Linked DNA regions of Homo sapiens: all the other regions are linked to region 4. Evidence: promoter capture Hi-C in 16 types of primary human blood cells and fetal thymus (Javierre and others, 2016). All regions are on one chromosome and are shown on one strand. Each heading gives the region's core, a stretch centred on a gene start or on the middle of the fragment in contact. The rest is flanking DNA. Distances are from core to core; before and after follow the strand shown.

Region 1 (2,700 bases), core at 101-2,600, 520 kb after region 4:
ATAAAAGTGTATTAATAGCCAGGTGCAATGGCTCACGCCTGTATTCCCAGCAATTTGGGAGGCCGAGGCCGGTAGGTCACCTGAAGTCGGGAGTTCGAGACCAGCCTGGCCAATGTGGTGAAACCCCATCTCTACTGAAAATATTAAAATTAGCTGGGCGTGGCAGCAGGCACCTGTAATTCCAGCTACTTGGGAGGCTGAGGCATGAGAATTACTTGAACCCAGGAGGCGGAGGTTGCAGTGAGCCAAGATCGCGCCATTGCACTCCAGCCTGGGCGACAAGAGCGAAACTCTGTCTCAAAAAAAAAAAGTGTATTGATAAATACGTGTGCCTGTATATATACACCACCCAGCTATTAAGTGGTGATGAAACCCATTATTATCTACTTTCCACAGGACAGTGACTTGTTACCACCGCAACAGCAGAGCCTGCCATCCCCAACAGATCACCAGTTGTCCCTGACATCGTGCCCTACCTTGTCTCCCTTTGTGGTCTCCTAAATGCCCATCTCGTTGGCCTTGGTTCGGCTAGTGGTATGGAGGGGTGCTGCCTAGCACTGACCTGAGAGTGTGTGTGACCCACTGACCCAATGGTGAGAACTGACTGCCCACCTCTCCAACTGATTGTTCAAAGGGTAGAGGAGACAAAGTGCAGATCTCACCCTTTCTTGGTATTTTCCCTTCTACCCTTTTGGAAGATAGAGTGGCTATTTGAAGTTAAAGGAAAGGGAAGGGGCACAGAAACAGTATTACTTGGTGTGTTTGTGTAGTGGGTTTTCTTGGGGAGGGAGAGGAGAGTTAAGTACTTTAAAGGATAGAAAGAAAATAATGAGACAAGAGAGTTTAGGTGTGCTTGGGAACTGTCTTAGGTAATGATCCTGGAAGAGGCCAGCTTGTACTGGAACCCAGATATGCTTAGGAGTCAACCTTGACATTGAAGTCATTTGCATTTCTTTCCTACTGGCTACCAGAGCCTCTCAGTCATCATACTGAGACTTCAGAAGGCCAAAATTCCCTAGATGTTTTCCTCTGTCCCACTAAGAGCTAGTTTATGGATATGATCATATCAGGAAGAGACTGAGACTCTCACAAAGGGTGACATGAAAGGTGTAAAGGGATCAGGGCTTCAGTTATTCTATATTTCCCAATCTTTGTGGGAATCTGTTCCTCACCATATCATCCCACGCCTTTCCATGGGATAATAGGGACCTAACAAAGCATGATATCCTTATTTCTCACCACTAGGACATCAAAGGCCAGTTCTGGAATGATGACGACTCGGAGGGAGATAATGAATCAGAGGAATTTCTCTATGGCGTTCAGGTGAGGTTACATCTCCCAAGACCCCCGTGTTGGATGGTCTAGATATGTGCTGCTTTTTGGATACATCAGGAGTGAAAGAGGTTCTGGAGCACAGATGAGATGAGGTTATAATGTTGATGTGGTCTGAGCATGGTCTTGTCAGAGCTGATCCCGTGCCCTTGCTCTTTCTTTGGAGTCATACCTGTTCCAGAGTAAACTACATCCTCTGTATGTGGAGACTACCCATATCTTAATTAGACATAATTATTTTCTGACTTTTATAACACTAGCCAGTGGGGGTAGTTTCATTCATTAGGGTCACATCTTAAAAGATTACTCTGCCAGCGTTTGCTTAATGCCATCACTACCCAGGGCACAGTCCTGAGCAGAAGTACCCAGACTCTCAGAATGCTCTTCACTTAGAACCAATCTTAGGAAACCTGTAACTCTTCAGCCTGTTCTGAGTTGTCATAGAAGGTATCCTGGTCAAGGTCTGAGAGAAAAGCTGGAGATTTAAGGAAGTGAACTCCAAGCAAAAGCCTACATTTGGTCTGCTGAACCTTTTTAAAGTCATGATGAGATGGAGACCTCTGTTAATGAAATCCCTTGCTAGGGTCACCACTGAGAACCCCTTCACATAAGTGGCTTTTACTTCCCCTATACTGCTGTCTGATTTCTCCTGTTCCTGGTGTCTTTTCATATTCTTTTTATTATCTCTCTCTTTCCCTCGTCTTTTTCCACCTCTCTCCACCACCATTTTTGCTGCTATCTCAGGGGAGCTGTGCAGCTGACCTGTATCGACACCCACAGCTTGATGCAGACATTGAAGCCGTGAAGGAGATCTACAGTGAGAACTCTGTATCCATCAGGTGGGACTCTACTTCAGGGGTGGCAGGGGAGCAAGTCACTTCTTTCTGAGTTGTTAAAAGGCTAGAGGTTTTTCTTTTTATGGTATGATAGTGGGATAAATTATGAACTTAATGATAGAAAATGCTCAGAATAAATGAGCTTGGCTGAGAGTAGAGAGTAAGGCCACTTTTCTTAGGAATTCCCTCTTATCCTAGACCCCTCTGGGCCAGTAGTTTCACCTTTCAGGTAAGAAATGCTTTTGGCCTGGAAGTAGATCCTGATCAGGTAAGTGGTGTAAGGCTATAGCTAAGACCCTAGGTACAAAACTGTCATCCACTCTTCCCTTTCCCCTGTCCCCAGGCTCAGTTCTCTTTCCAACTCAGTTTCTATTCCCTTCTTTCTCCCTTAATGAGTCTCACCTGTTGTCACCTGTATCTCTATAGAGAATATGGAACTATCGATGACGTGGACATTGACCTCCACATCAACATCAGCTTCCTCGATGTAAGTGGGGCTAGTACCTGCCAACAACATGTCTAGCTGGACTTG
Region 2 (2,700 bases), core at 201-2,700, 850 kb before region 4:
AAATACAAATTCCTAAATTCTTTTAAAGAAGTTACTGACTTAGGCCGGGCGCGGTGGCTCACGCCTGTAATCCCAGCACTTTGGGAGGCCGAGGCAGGTGGATCACAAGGTCAGGAAATCGAGACCATCCTGGCTAACACAGTGAAACCCCGTCTTTACTAAAAACATAAAAAATTAGCCGGGCGTGGTGGCAAGAGCCCGTAGTCTCAGCTACTCGGGAGGGTGAAGTAGGAGAATGGCATGAACCCGAGAGGCAGAGCTTGCAGTGAGCCGAGATCGCGCCACTGCACTCCAGCCTGGGAGACAGAGCGAGACTCCGTCTCAAAAAAAAAAAAAAAAAAAAAAAAAAAGGAAGTTACTGACTTAGACCAGGCATGGTGGCTCACTCACGCCTGTAATCCCAGCACTTTGGGAGGCTGAGGCAGGCAGATCACCTGAGGTCAGGAGTTTGAGACCAGCCTGGCCAACATGGCAAAACTCTTGTCTCTACTAAAAATACAAAAATTAGCTGGGCATGCTGGCGGATGCCTGTAATCCCAGCTACTTTGGAGGCCGAGGCACAAGAATCTCTTGACCCCGGGAGACGGAGGTTGCAGTAAGCCGAGATCCCGCCACTTCACTCCAGCCTGGGCAACAGAGCAAGACTCCATCTCAAAAAAAAAATTACAGAATTATTAAAAGGTCTTAGTTATTATGTATTTTCTCGATGAAAAGTGACAAAGTACAGCTACTATCATGTGGAATTTGGTGACATTTCTCCCTGGGTAAAAGGGTTTTTTCATAACTGCAGGTTTTGAGAGTTGACTGGTAACACCCATACTTAAAAATGTTCTTCCCAGATCACTTTTTGCAAGCATGAGATAAGAAGAAGAATACAAAGCTGGAGTCAGAATTGTAGTAGCAGCATCAACATCAACATGAGTGTTTACTATGCACCAGAAACTGTTCTAAACATTGCACATAAATTTACTCATTTATTCCTTCTATAATCTTGGAAGGTAGGTGCTATCATTAGCACCATTTGACAGAAAATAAGGTCCAGAGAGATTAGGTCATTTGCCTAAGATGACAGAGCTCCTGGATGGTAATGTTGGTGTTGTGGACTTGAATTTCATCTTTCCATTAGCCGGAACAGTCTATGTTATGTCACAGGAACAAATACCCCTTGAATCTCACAGTTTAATTCAACAGAGGGTACCTGTTCTGTATGGGTTAGCAGGGGGGTTAAGCTTATTATGCTAACTCAGGGACTAATGCTGACACAAGGTTCGTTTTGATATATGCTTTCATCGTCATGATCAGTAATCACTACCAAGACGAAAGAGTATGGGAAAGAGTCTAAACTGGAAATGAAATGCTTCTGCTTGAAGCAATGCATGTTACTTTACACATTTCACTGACCCAAGCACATCCAATGCCACTCCCGACTTCAAGGGGACAAGAAAATGCACTTCTACCATGAGTCTATTAACAAGCAAACCAGATTGTTGGCATTAATGATTAATACAAACATTCTGAGAGCTGGAGCCGTTCGTGTCCTCCTTTGGCTTCAGCTTCCCTATCCACAAAAAGACCATGATCATTTTGTAAGAATCTCTTGTTGTAAGGATCAAAGAGCCACATTTGTTACAGCTATAATGAGGCAGAATGGTTGCATCCAACCAAAGCTTCCATCAGCTGAAAATCTTGATCCCACCACAGGCAGCCCTGTAGCCCTCCTTACTGGGCTGTCTGCAGAATGGCCTTTGTCCAGATGAAGGTACATGCCAATCTTTTTGTCACTCACACACCTGAGGTTTTGAAGGACATAGTTTTCACTTCAATCAACAACATGCCATAGTGGTCCTGGCCTTTGCTAGAAATTTTGGTCTGGAACCACCAGCTGTTCAGTTCCTGTTGAAAGTTCCAGACCACTTTAGCTTGATAGAGATTGCGAGGGTCTCCTTCTTCCAGGTCCTCCAAACCCTCTCTTTAAATCAAGTCAGGCCACCAGGACTGTTTACTTGGCCCCTCAGAGTTTCCACAGACACTCCCAGGACGTCTGCTGTGAGTCAGGGATGAGCTAAGCCATAGAAATTCCTTTGCCAACCACAAGCCCTGAGGGTAGTACAAAAAATACCCCTAAAAAGAGCATTTCCCAAACTTCTATGCAAACAGTAGTAACCACACTGCCAATCACCCTCCAGAGTGCTTTGCTAGATCCTTTCCTATGGGGCCATTTGACCCTTCCTCACTCCTCTGCTAGCCTAGGCAGTGCACTCCATGAGGACGGGGACTACCTTTTCATGTGGGTTTCACTATGTGCCTGGCACACAGCACGTTCTCAATAAATGTTTTCCGCATTAAGACGCTTCTTAGGAGTCTTCATGTAAGTTCATACACGACTTCCTTGTAGAATTGTGTCAATGAACATGCAATTAGGCTAGCTGAACTTCAGGCCCTGAGAGTCTATGAAGCTAAAATAAGGCCCAGATGTGGGGTGGGAGGGGGAGTAGGCAGAGGCGGCAAAGGAGGACATTTCAGGCAAAGGGAGCAGATGTCCAGGCAGGAAAGCACAAGGTAACGGGGGCACAGGGGGCGCACCACTTTTCCTGGAAGGAAAAAACAGCAGATGAGAGAAGGAGGTTGGAGCCAGTTACCAGTAGAGGTCTATGTTCAAAGTCCAGAAGGAAGAAACAGCAGGACGGGGACAAAGAGAGG
Region 3 (2,700 bases), core at 107-2,606, 910 kb before region 4:
CTTCCTCTCCAAGCGATTTCTGTGTGAGTCAGGACAGTAGTATGTCATCAGGGCTGGCCAGCAAAGCAGGGCTAAGGTCTCCCTGGAACTAGAGGCATGTGCAGGGGCTGCAAAACTGACCTATACATGCATGTGGAAATGTGTACACACACACACACACACACACACACACACACACACACACAGGAGGCACAGAGCCCTGAAAAAAGTGAAAGCTACATTGGGCCCAGAGGAGGTCCAGCCAAAAGAAGGGATGGCAACAAGGAGAATAGGGAGAGGAAGGAAAGGGATGAGAGCACATGAGACCACATCAGAGCGCAGATTTCGGGTCAGACACTGGCAGGCCCAGGGCACACACATCTGCATTCACTCAATATCTGCTGAGTCCTGCTAGGTGCCCACCTAAACATATCTGGAAATCCTATCCTTTCCAGAAGCCTTTCCAGACTGCACTCAAGGAAGGGTGCATTTTCTCCAGATGTGATCTGCCTAAATGCCTCCTTGCCTCCAAATTCCTTTGGTTTCTACCCTGAAAGAGGCTCAGCTTAGCAGAACAACTCTGCCGACCCCTCTCCATCTAAGCACCAGACCCCTCTCGGAGTGTAGCAATCTCCACCAGTCCTCAGAGCTAGAAGGCCTCTTACGGTACACCTGGTCCAGCGCCTAGCTCCAGGCCCATTGTACAGATGGAAATCTGGACCCAGAGTGGTGGCCGGCTGGCCAAGGGCCCACACTCAATTATCAGCCACCAGCAGAAGTGACTAAGAGCCAGCTGATGCTCCTATCTCTCTTCCTCACTTATTGAATGGAATCACCAGGCTGCCTTGCCTGCCCAGGGTACAGCATGAGCTCAGAAGCCAGCAGCCTTGGGTTTCAATCCTGACACCGATGCCTTGCTGAACACATGACCAAGTTTAAATGACTTAACCTATTTGAGACCCAATTCCAAATCTCTAAAATGGGGGTAACAATCCCTACCCCACAGGGCTGCTGTGAGAATAAAATAAGACAATAGAGAGAGAGGACTTAGGAAAGTGCCCAGTACCAAAACTGCAGTAATAATTATTATTATTGCTGTTATTATTGCCGCAAGCATGGGGACAAGGCCTCCTAGATGGGGCCTCTGCACTGAGCGAACACTTTGCCCCTACCCCACTCTCCCTGGCCAAGACCTCCTCTGTCAGGCCACACATCTGGGCCTCTGGGACCATTACTCCTTCTGTATCCCTACTTTTCACCTAGAGCCCTATCAGTGCCCCAGCTCCAAAGTAGCAAATGCACAACTCGACTCCATCTCTGGCTCTGACTCATTCTAGTGGTCCTGGGCCCCTTCCTCTTCGCAGATGCTTGGTCACAGTTCCAAGTACCATGAGCTCCTACCGTCCTGCTGCCATAGCCCCTAGCACAGAGCATTCCCACAGGGACACATTCCAATGTCTCCCACAAGGCAGCCCCAGTTCCTAGGAGCCTGCATTGCCTCTAGGGTAACTTGGGACCCCTGCCTCCCAGAGACAGTATCTCTCCCTGCTCCAAGGCTCCCAGCAAGAAATGCTTCTCACTCCACTTCCCGCAGATTAAGCTCCCTATGCCTAGAGAAGGTCAGATTCCCAATGGCATAAGGTGTGTGGAGCAGGCATTCATTCTCTGGACCACAAAGAGAAAGAAAGGGAGAAAGGGGGCAGCTGGCTGGGAGCACTGGTCAGAACTGGAGGGTGGAGGGGGAACTCCTGGAAGCCCCAGCATGATAAAGTCCAGGGCTCTGGAAGAGAAGAACTCTCAGCAAAGGCCCTGACTATGCTGTGAAGGCCACTAGTCACTGGGTCACCCAGGTCAGGCCTGCCCCTTCTCTGGTTCCCCAGATGAGTCTTCCCTGACTTACTAAGGAGACCCTTGGCACATCTTACCGGGCTCCAGAAAGAGGGGTAAAACCTGTGCCTACCTCCAGAGCAGCAGAAAAAGCCAGTTCTGGAAGCAGACAACAGCCCAGCTCCACCATTTGCCGGCTGTGTGTCTTTGGGCATGTGACTTACCCTTTCTGGGCCTCAGTTTCCCCAACTGTACAATGGTGTTAATGATACCCTACCTCATAGGATTACTATGAGGATTACATGAGATAATGTCTATTTAGCCTCCAGCACAACCCTACCCACTCCCAAACCTGAAAACCCAATGCTCCTATCTGGCACACTGCAAGGGCGGTAGAACTGGGGGTGGCAGGCAAGGGTTGCATAACTGTACACGTGGCCCCCTTCCAGGTGTGGGGTCCATTCTGAGCCAACAAGACCAAAGGCAATTTCTCAAAAATCATGTGGACCAGTCCTCACCCCTCTCCCCCTCCCCTAGGCCCTGGGTGTGCCCTCCCCCTTTTGCTGGTGGACTTCCCTAACACTCCTGCCCTGGGGATGTGGGAAAAGGACAATGAGAAGTCGCCACCCACTCAGAGGATAAGCTCATGGGCAGTAACGTCATCCTCCTTGCCATTTTTCCTCTTTCCCTGACCCTATGACTCAGATCCACAGCTTAACAGCCCCCATGTGGTCATAATCTCAGAGGCTGCTTGGATTTGGTCATTTTTCTGCACAGACCCCAAACCCCGTATGTGCAACCAAGTACCATCCAGCCACTTGTTCTACAACATTTTCTAGGAGTCTCTTTAGGTGCTGTGGAATTCCAACTCACAGCTCTCTTATCACACTGCAT
Region 4 (2,700 bases), core at 75-2,574:
GAAGAGGACAAGTCTAGCAAATGAGGGGACACGGGCGGAGGGAGGGATTAAAAGATGGGGGTGTGATCCGTGCCAATGGGGACACCCACTGGTTCGAATATTAACGCGAGGTTTGTCCGCTTCTTCACAATCTGTCCGTTTCGTTTTACTGCGAAAGCAAATGTGTTCCCATCCCTCTATTTGGGGATACGATTAGAGTTCCGGGAAGGGGGTGCAGCGCCCGGACTGGCACAACCGCCGTTGTCCCACCTCCTCCGGGGCGGCAACACCGCAGTGCCAGGCCTGGGACTGAGGCGTGGGGTCCCCCCTCGCTCCGTCCTGGCGCCGCCCGTCGCCCCGCCCCTTGGGGGGCCCCGTGGCGCACCCTTGTGACGTAGCGCTTGTGTCGACATCGGCGCGCGCCGAGCCCGGAAGAGGCGCGGGCTAGGAAAGGAGTTGGTTCGCGCAGGTGCGGCGCCTGGGTCCCCATGGCGCTGTGGCGCGGCTCCGCGTACGCGGGCTTCCTGGCGCTGGCCGTGGGCTGCGTCTTCCTGCTGGAGCCAGAGCTGCCAGGCTCGGCGCTGCGCTCTCTCTGGAGCTCGCTGTGTCTGGGGCCCGCGCCTGCGCCCCCGGGACCCGTCTCCCCCGAGGGCCGGTTGGCGGCAGCCTGGGACGCGCTTATCGTGCGGCCAGTCCGGCGCTGGCGCCGCGTGGCAGTGGGGTGAGTGCCAACGGGGCCTGGGTCTCTGAGCCTCCGAGGTCGGCCTTGGAGGTCGGGCGGAGCCGCGCAGAAACAGGGCTTCTCAGAGGTCCCCGGGAGGCGCTGCTGTCCGCGCTGGCCCCTTGGCGAGAAGTGTCGGACGTCTGAGTGGAACCCGGTTCGTCACCGCTGCTCTTTCCACTCGGCTGGCCTCTGCGCCTTTCTCTCATCCCGGTAGGACCAGCCCTAACAGCTTCTTGCTAATCCCGCTTTGTCTGACACCTTTCTCCGAGCCTTCTTCCTCGTTCCAACTTTTAGCCCCTTCTCTTCTGGCGACTGTTGTTTTGCAATCAAAGATACTTGACCTTACCCACTATGACAACACTCTTCCTCTTTCTTCTGAACTTCTTGAAGACGCGTGATGTCTGCCTTTACCCACTTTCGAAACGCCGTGTAGTCTAGAAACCACACGACTGTACTGCAACTCCTCTCAGATTTGCCTTTTTGAATCTTCATTATCTACTCTGCAGCCTTCCACGCATTGAACACGCCCTTCTCCGTGAAATTCTTTTCTTCCCCTGACTTCAGTGACACTGCATATTTAAGGTTCTTCCAAATGACACTACCTCCTTTCTTTGTACTTTTCCTTGGGAATGTAATTATTTTCTTTATAGTATTGATACTGTAAACACTAACTTTAGTCCCTGTCTCAGTTCGATTTGACTTTCTTGCCGTAATCTCAGAGTTATGTATAACCACCACATAAAAGCAGGCCCTCTACCATGTAGCTCACTACTTTCTGTGGAGTGTTGGGGCCGGGAGGGGTAAAGTAGAGCAAACTTGGCCTGAAGATTAAATGACATCATTCATGTAATCTCTCTAGCATAGTGCCTGCTTTAAAAAGCATTCGATATTAGCTATAATTTTGGGGTTTTTTTTTTTTTTTTTTTTTGGACACAGGGTCTCTCTCTCTGTCGCCTAGGCTGGAGTGCAGTGGTGCAATCACTGCTCACTGCAGCCTCGAACTCCCGAGCTCAAGAGATCCTTCTGCCTCAGCCTCTGGAGTAGCTGGGACGACAGGCAAGCACCACCACGCCCAGCCAATTTTTTATTTATTTTATTTTTTTTAGTAGAGTCGAGGTCTTGCTATATTGCCCAGGCTGGTCTCGAACTCCTGAGCTCAAGCCAGCCTCCCATCTTGGCCTCCCAAAGTGCTGGGATTAAATTGTCCTTCCTTGCTTTATGCGCGTTCATTCAGCAGATATTCACCAACTACATGGTTAGTGTCAGGTCTGTGCTAGGTTCTTAAGATACAGAGATGGGTGAAGCAAGGCCCCTGTCTCACTTGTTGGAAACATATTATTGTATCAGTCATTTGGGCTGCTAGAACAGAATACCACAAATTAGGTGGATTAAACAACAAATCTGTTTTCTCGTGGATCTGGAGGCTGATAGTCCAAGATCAAGGTGTTGGCAGGATTGGCTTCCGATGTGGCCTCTCTTCCTAGCTTGCAGCCAGCTGGCTTTTCAGTTAGTCTGCGCATGTACACTCCTGGTGCCTCTTATTCTTCTTATGTGGACACTAGGTCCTTTTGGAATAGGGCTCACCCGTATGACCTTATTTAACCTTAACTACTTCCTTAAAGGCCCTACGTCCAAATATAGTCACATTGGGAATTAGGGTTTCAGCATATGAATTGGTGGGGGGTGGACAATTCAATCCATAACAATTATGGTTAGAAGAGGAACAACCCACGAGGACCAGGCAGAAGCCTTAATGCCTTTTACGACCTTACCTTAGAAGCACATAGGAACTCTTCTACCAGAGTCACAGGTCCACCTGGTTTTAAGGGAGGGGACATAGAACAAACCTTGATGGGAGGAGCATCAGTGTCACATTGTGAAAAGAACATTTGGAATGGGGCATCTTATTGCCACCATCTTGGAAAATATATTTTACTACAGTGACTTTCATAGGACAGACACTAAATAAATGAGATTTCTTCAAGCCAAAGTGGGAA
Region 5 (2,700 bases), core at 126-2,625, 560 kb after region 4:
ATACAACTCTAGGTACGTGGTTGGTGGGATGGGCAGTTTGTGCTGGGAAGAGGCTTGTGGAGGATTTTGGAGAAGGCAGGAGAGCTCTGGCCCTCCCTGCAAGGGAGGCTTCAGGTCAGAGCCTGAGGAAAGACCTGGGCATGAGATATGAGGTCTCTGGCTGGGTAGAGAGCATGAAGGACACATGAGATCTGGAGTCTGGATGAACTTGCTGACAAGCAAGCTTTTTTTGACTGCTAATGCGTAAATCCACTATAGAAATTTTCATTTGTCATTTTTGTACTTATTGGCAAAAAATTAGAGCTTATAGGCATCAGATTTAATTTGAGATAGTTGAAATAGGGTTTGTGTTTGAGGCCAATATAATTTTATCTGCTAATGGCATCTCGTGGACTTGGAGGCAGCCCTTCTGTACCAGAACATTGTCAAAAGCTTTTACTGTAAAGCTTGAGAACAAACTAGTTTGCTGGATTTGGGCATGTAACTAACAGGTTTGAGGCATGGGATTATCCTGTGGACTTTTTTTTTTTTTTTTTTGCTTTGAGGTTCTGAATGTATTAAGGTTGACCTTCTTAAGCCGTTGAAACTGTTCTGCAGTACATTTGTGATGTAGGGCCTAAGACTTGTATCGTTTTTTTTTTTTAATCACAACCCAGTGTACAGAACTTGAGACATGCGTCTTTTCTCTGCCACCTTTTAAAAGCAGATTATTCTTGAAGTGCATAGAGCAGCAATTGATTAATGGAATTGGTGTCTTCACATTTCATTTACTTCCTCCCAACAATTTTATAGGATGCATATAAATATTTCCAAAAGAGGTACACATAATTTCTTACTATAAAAGTATTTTTATATTTATATCAGTAAATTTGTTAATAAAGAGGATTTTTTTTTTTCTGTAATCCTACCACCCCAATGACGTCCTATTAAAATTTCAGTATATATCCTCCCAGGTCTTTTAGGTATGTTTAATTTGGTGTCCCTTCCCCGCTCCCAAAAGGGGAGGGACCAGGTTCTTGTATAGAATAGTGGAATGTTAGTAAATCACAGGTTTAAAGAGACATAACAGTGGAATCTCTAGAGCAGCTGTCACCTGGATACCTGGTTATTAAGGTAATTTTTCCATTACCCCAAAGAGCTTTAGTTACACTCAGCTTTTTCCTTAATCCTTGTGCAGCTCTCCAGGGCACACCGTATTCAGCTCTGAGCGGTCTTTGCTAGTGAGGCCAAGGAGCCACCCTGAGCCAAAAGGGGAGCATTATGTCACCGGAAGCCCAACCCCAGAGAACCAAAGGTATGACCTGATATTCAGTGGCCCCAGCCAGGTCTTTACAGGAAGACCCTCATATCTCAGGTCTAAGAAGAGCCAGCTGATGGTTTTTAAAAAGAGTGGAATTAGTTACTCCAACCCACTTATTCAGATCTTATTTTGTTCACAATACAGTCCCTAGATTGTAGGCCCATTGGAGGCCACAGCAAAGCCTTTGTGTTCCAGTTGGCCTGATGTGCCATCTCTCAGTAATGTTCCCTTAACAGCCAGACTTCCCTAAGCCCAGCTGGGAGCTCTGAAGGTATGCGAGCCCTCCCTCAACCATGAGTGTAGGGAAAGGGACCAGGGGCCCCAGGCTTTCCTGTCAGTAATGCAGAAGTTCCTCAGATTTAGGGAAGGGGGAGCAGAGGCATAACTTTGATTCTGACAAAGAGGCATTCAGAGAGACTGAAAGGTCATTTAACAAACACTGGAATGCTTCCACATACTAGGTGCTAGGAGATACAAAACCATATAGGTCCTGGAAGGGAGGATTGATTTTTTCATTTTGGTACGTAGTAGATATTAGGGGCTTAGGAAATACACATCGAAATGAAGAGTGCATTTGCCATGTTGAACCGTTAGCCGGTATCTTATTTCCCCATTTTAAAAGTTTTAGAATCTGTGGTTGAGGACTTGTGGCCATCAGTTTTCCATAGCCAACAGACTGTTCACTACTGCCTTCAGAGCTCCTTGGACCTCAGCGGGCCTTCTTTGGAGATGGCAGAGATGGATTTAGATGTATACTCTACTCGAGCCACCCAGAGAGCCCACAAAGTCAGAGATGGAACAGGGTAAAGGAGTAAGGGTCATATGTGTGAGATGCCTTGATTTGGAACTTTGAGATTTAGGATGAGGTGGGGAAGGGCTAAAGAGGAGCTTGTTCCTGAGCCTTGCTTGGCCGAAGCATTTAGGCTCAAGCGTTTTAGAAAGAGTAGCCCTTGGTCTGAGAACTCAAGGAAACAGCTTTCTGATGAGACGTGTAGCAAGCTTCTGGTTCACATCCTTACCTGATAGTTCTTCAAACACTGCCTGGTCTGGTTCACATCCTTACCTGATAGTTATTCAAACACTGCCTGGAAGCTTCTCCTGAGTTTTTGTCTCTAATCAGCTAACTAACAGGCTGAGTGAGTTTAGTTGTAAGTCATTAATGAAGAAAGCAAAGGTTGGGGCCATTGTCAGGGTTGTGACCTGGGCTAGTTAATTACCTGGAACTGATGGTCTGTGTTACAGAGTGGTGGTATACTTGTCAGGCTTAGAAAAGAAATCAGGATGTGTATCAAAAATCATTTGGGGAAAAGATTTGACCAGCAACTTTAATTTCTCTATGTTTGCAACTATCCTGTTAATGTAGTTGTGATAATTTCAGAATTATACCAGTGCCCTTATGT

The links. The method cuts DNA at HindIII sites, captures the fragments that hold promoters and counts their contacts. A CHiCAGO score of 5 or more calls a contact.
Region 1: a fragment that was not itself captured here is called in contact with the fragment with the promoter of ADPGK-AS1 in region 4 in 1 of 17 cell types (fetal thymus); the score reaches 5.1 in fetal thymus.
Region 2: a contact is called between a fragment that was not itself captured here and the fragment with the promoter of ADPGK-AS1 in region 4, in 2 of 17 cell types (fetal thymus and total B cells). The highest score is 7.9, in fetal thymus.
Region 3: a contact is called between a fragment that was not itself captured here and the fragment with the promoter of ADPGK-AS1 in region 4, in 1 of 17 cell types (M2 macrophages). The highest score is 5.1, in M2 macrophages.
Region 5: a contact is called between a fragment that was not itself captured here and the fragment with the promoter of ADPGK-AS1 in region 4, in 2 of 17 cell types (fetal thymus and naive CD8 T cells). The highest score is 6.1, in fetal thymus.

The regions. Positions count from the first base shown.
Region 1 is chr15:72,265,368-72,268,067 of GRCh38, reverse strand. PARP6 (poly(ADP-ribose) polymerase family member 6) reads left to right here. Exons shown (of 24, transcript NM_001323532.2): 3 at 397-593; 4 at 1,246-1,323; 5 at 2,077-2,171; 6 at 2,595-2,655. The coding sequence starts at 591. Among named protein-coding and RNA genes, the nearest start is that of PARP6, 5.8 kb to the left of the region's middle. The HindIII fragment of the contact is 4,663 bases long and covers 1-2,700 here.
Region 2 is chr15:73,633,763-73,636,462 of GRCh38, reverse strand. It overlaps LOC105370891 (a long non-coding RNA gene), which reads right to left and starts at 46. Exons shown (of 3, transcript XR_932451.3): 1 at 1-46. The HindIII fragment of the contact is 438 bases long and covers 1,232-1,669 here.
Region 3 is chr15:73,686,674-73,689,373 of GRCh38, reverse strand. The region is part of intron 1 of CD276 (CD276 molecule); the gene reads right to left. Among named protein-coding and RNA genes, the nearest start is that of CD276, 3.6 kb to the right of the region's middle. The HindIII fragment of the contact is 3,534 bases long and covers 1-2,700 here.
Region 4 is chr15:72,781,459-72,784,158 of GRCh38, reverse strand. It overlaps ADPGK-AS1 (ADPGK antisense RNA 1), which reads right to left and starts at 1,324. Exons shown (of 3, transcript NR_040107.1): 1 at 1-1,324. It overlaps ADPGK (ADP dependent glucokinase), which reads left to right and starts at 401. Exons shown (of 7, transcript NM_001365225.1): 1 at 401-700. The coding sequence starts at 468. RefSeq lists enhancers at 1-85, 136-195, 956-1,025 and a silencer at 246-705. The HindIII fragment of the contact is 5,666 bases long and covers 1-2,700 here.
Region 5 is chr15:72,219,762-72,222,461 of GRCh38, reverse strand. The region is part of intron 1 of PKM (pyruvate kinase M1/2); the gene reads left to right. Among named protein-coding and RNA genes, the nearest start is that of PKM, 10 kb to the left of the region's middle. The HindIII fragment of the contact is 1,853 bases long and covers 449-2,301 here.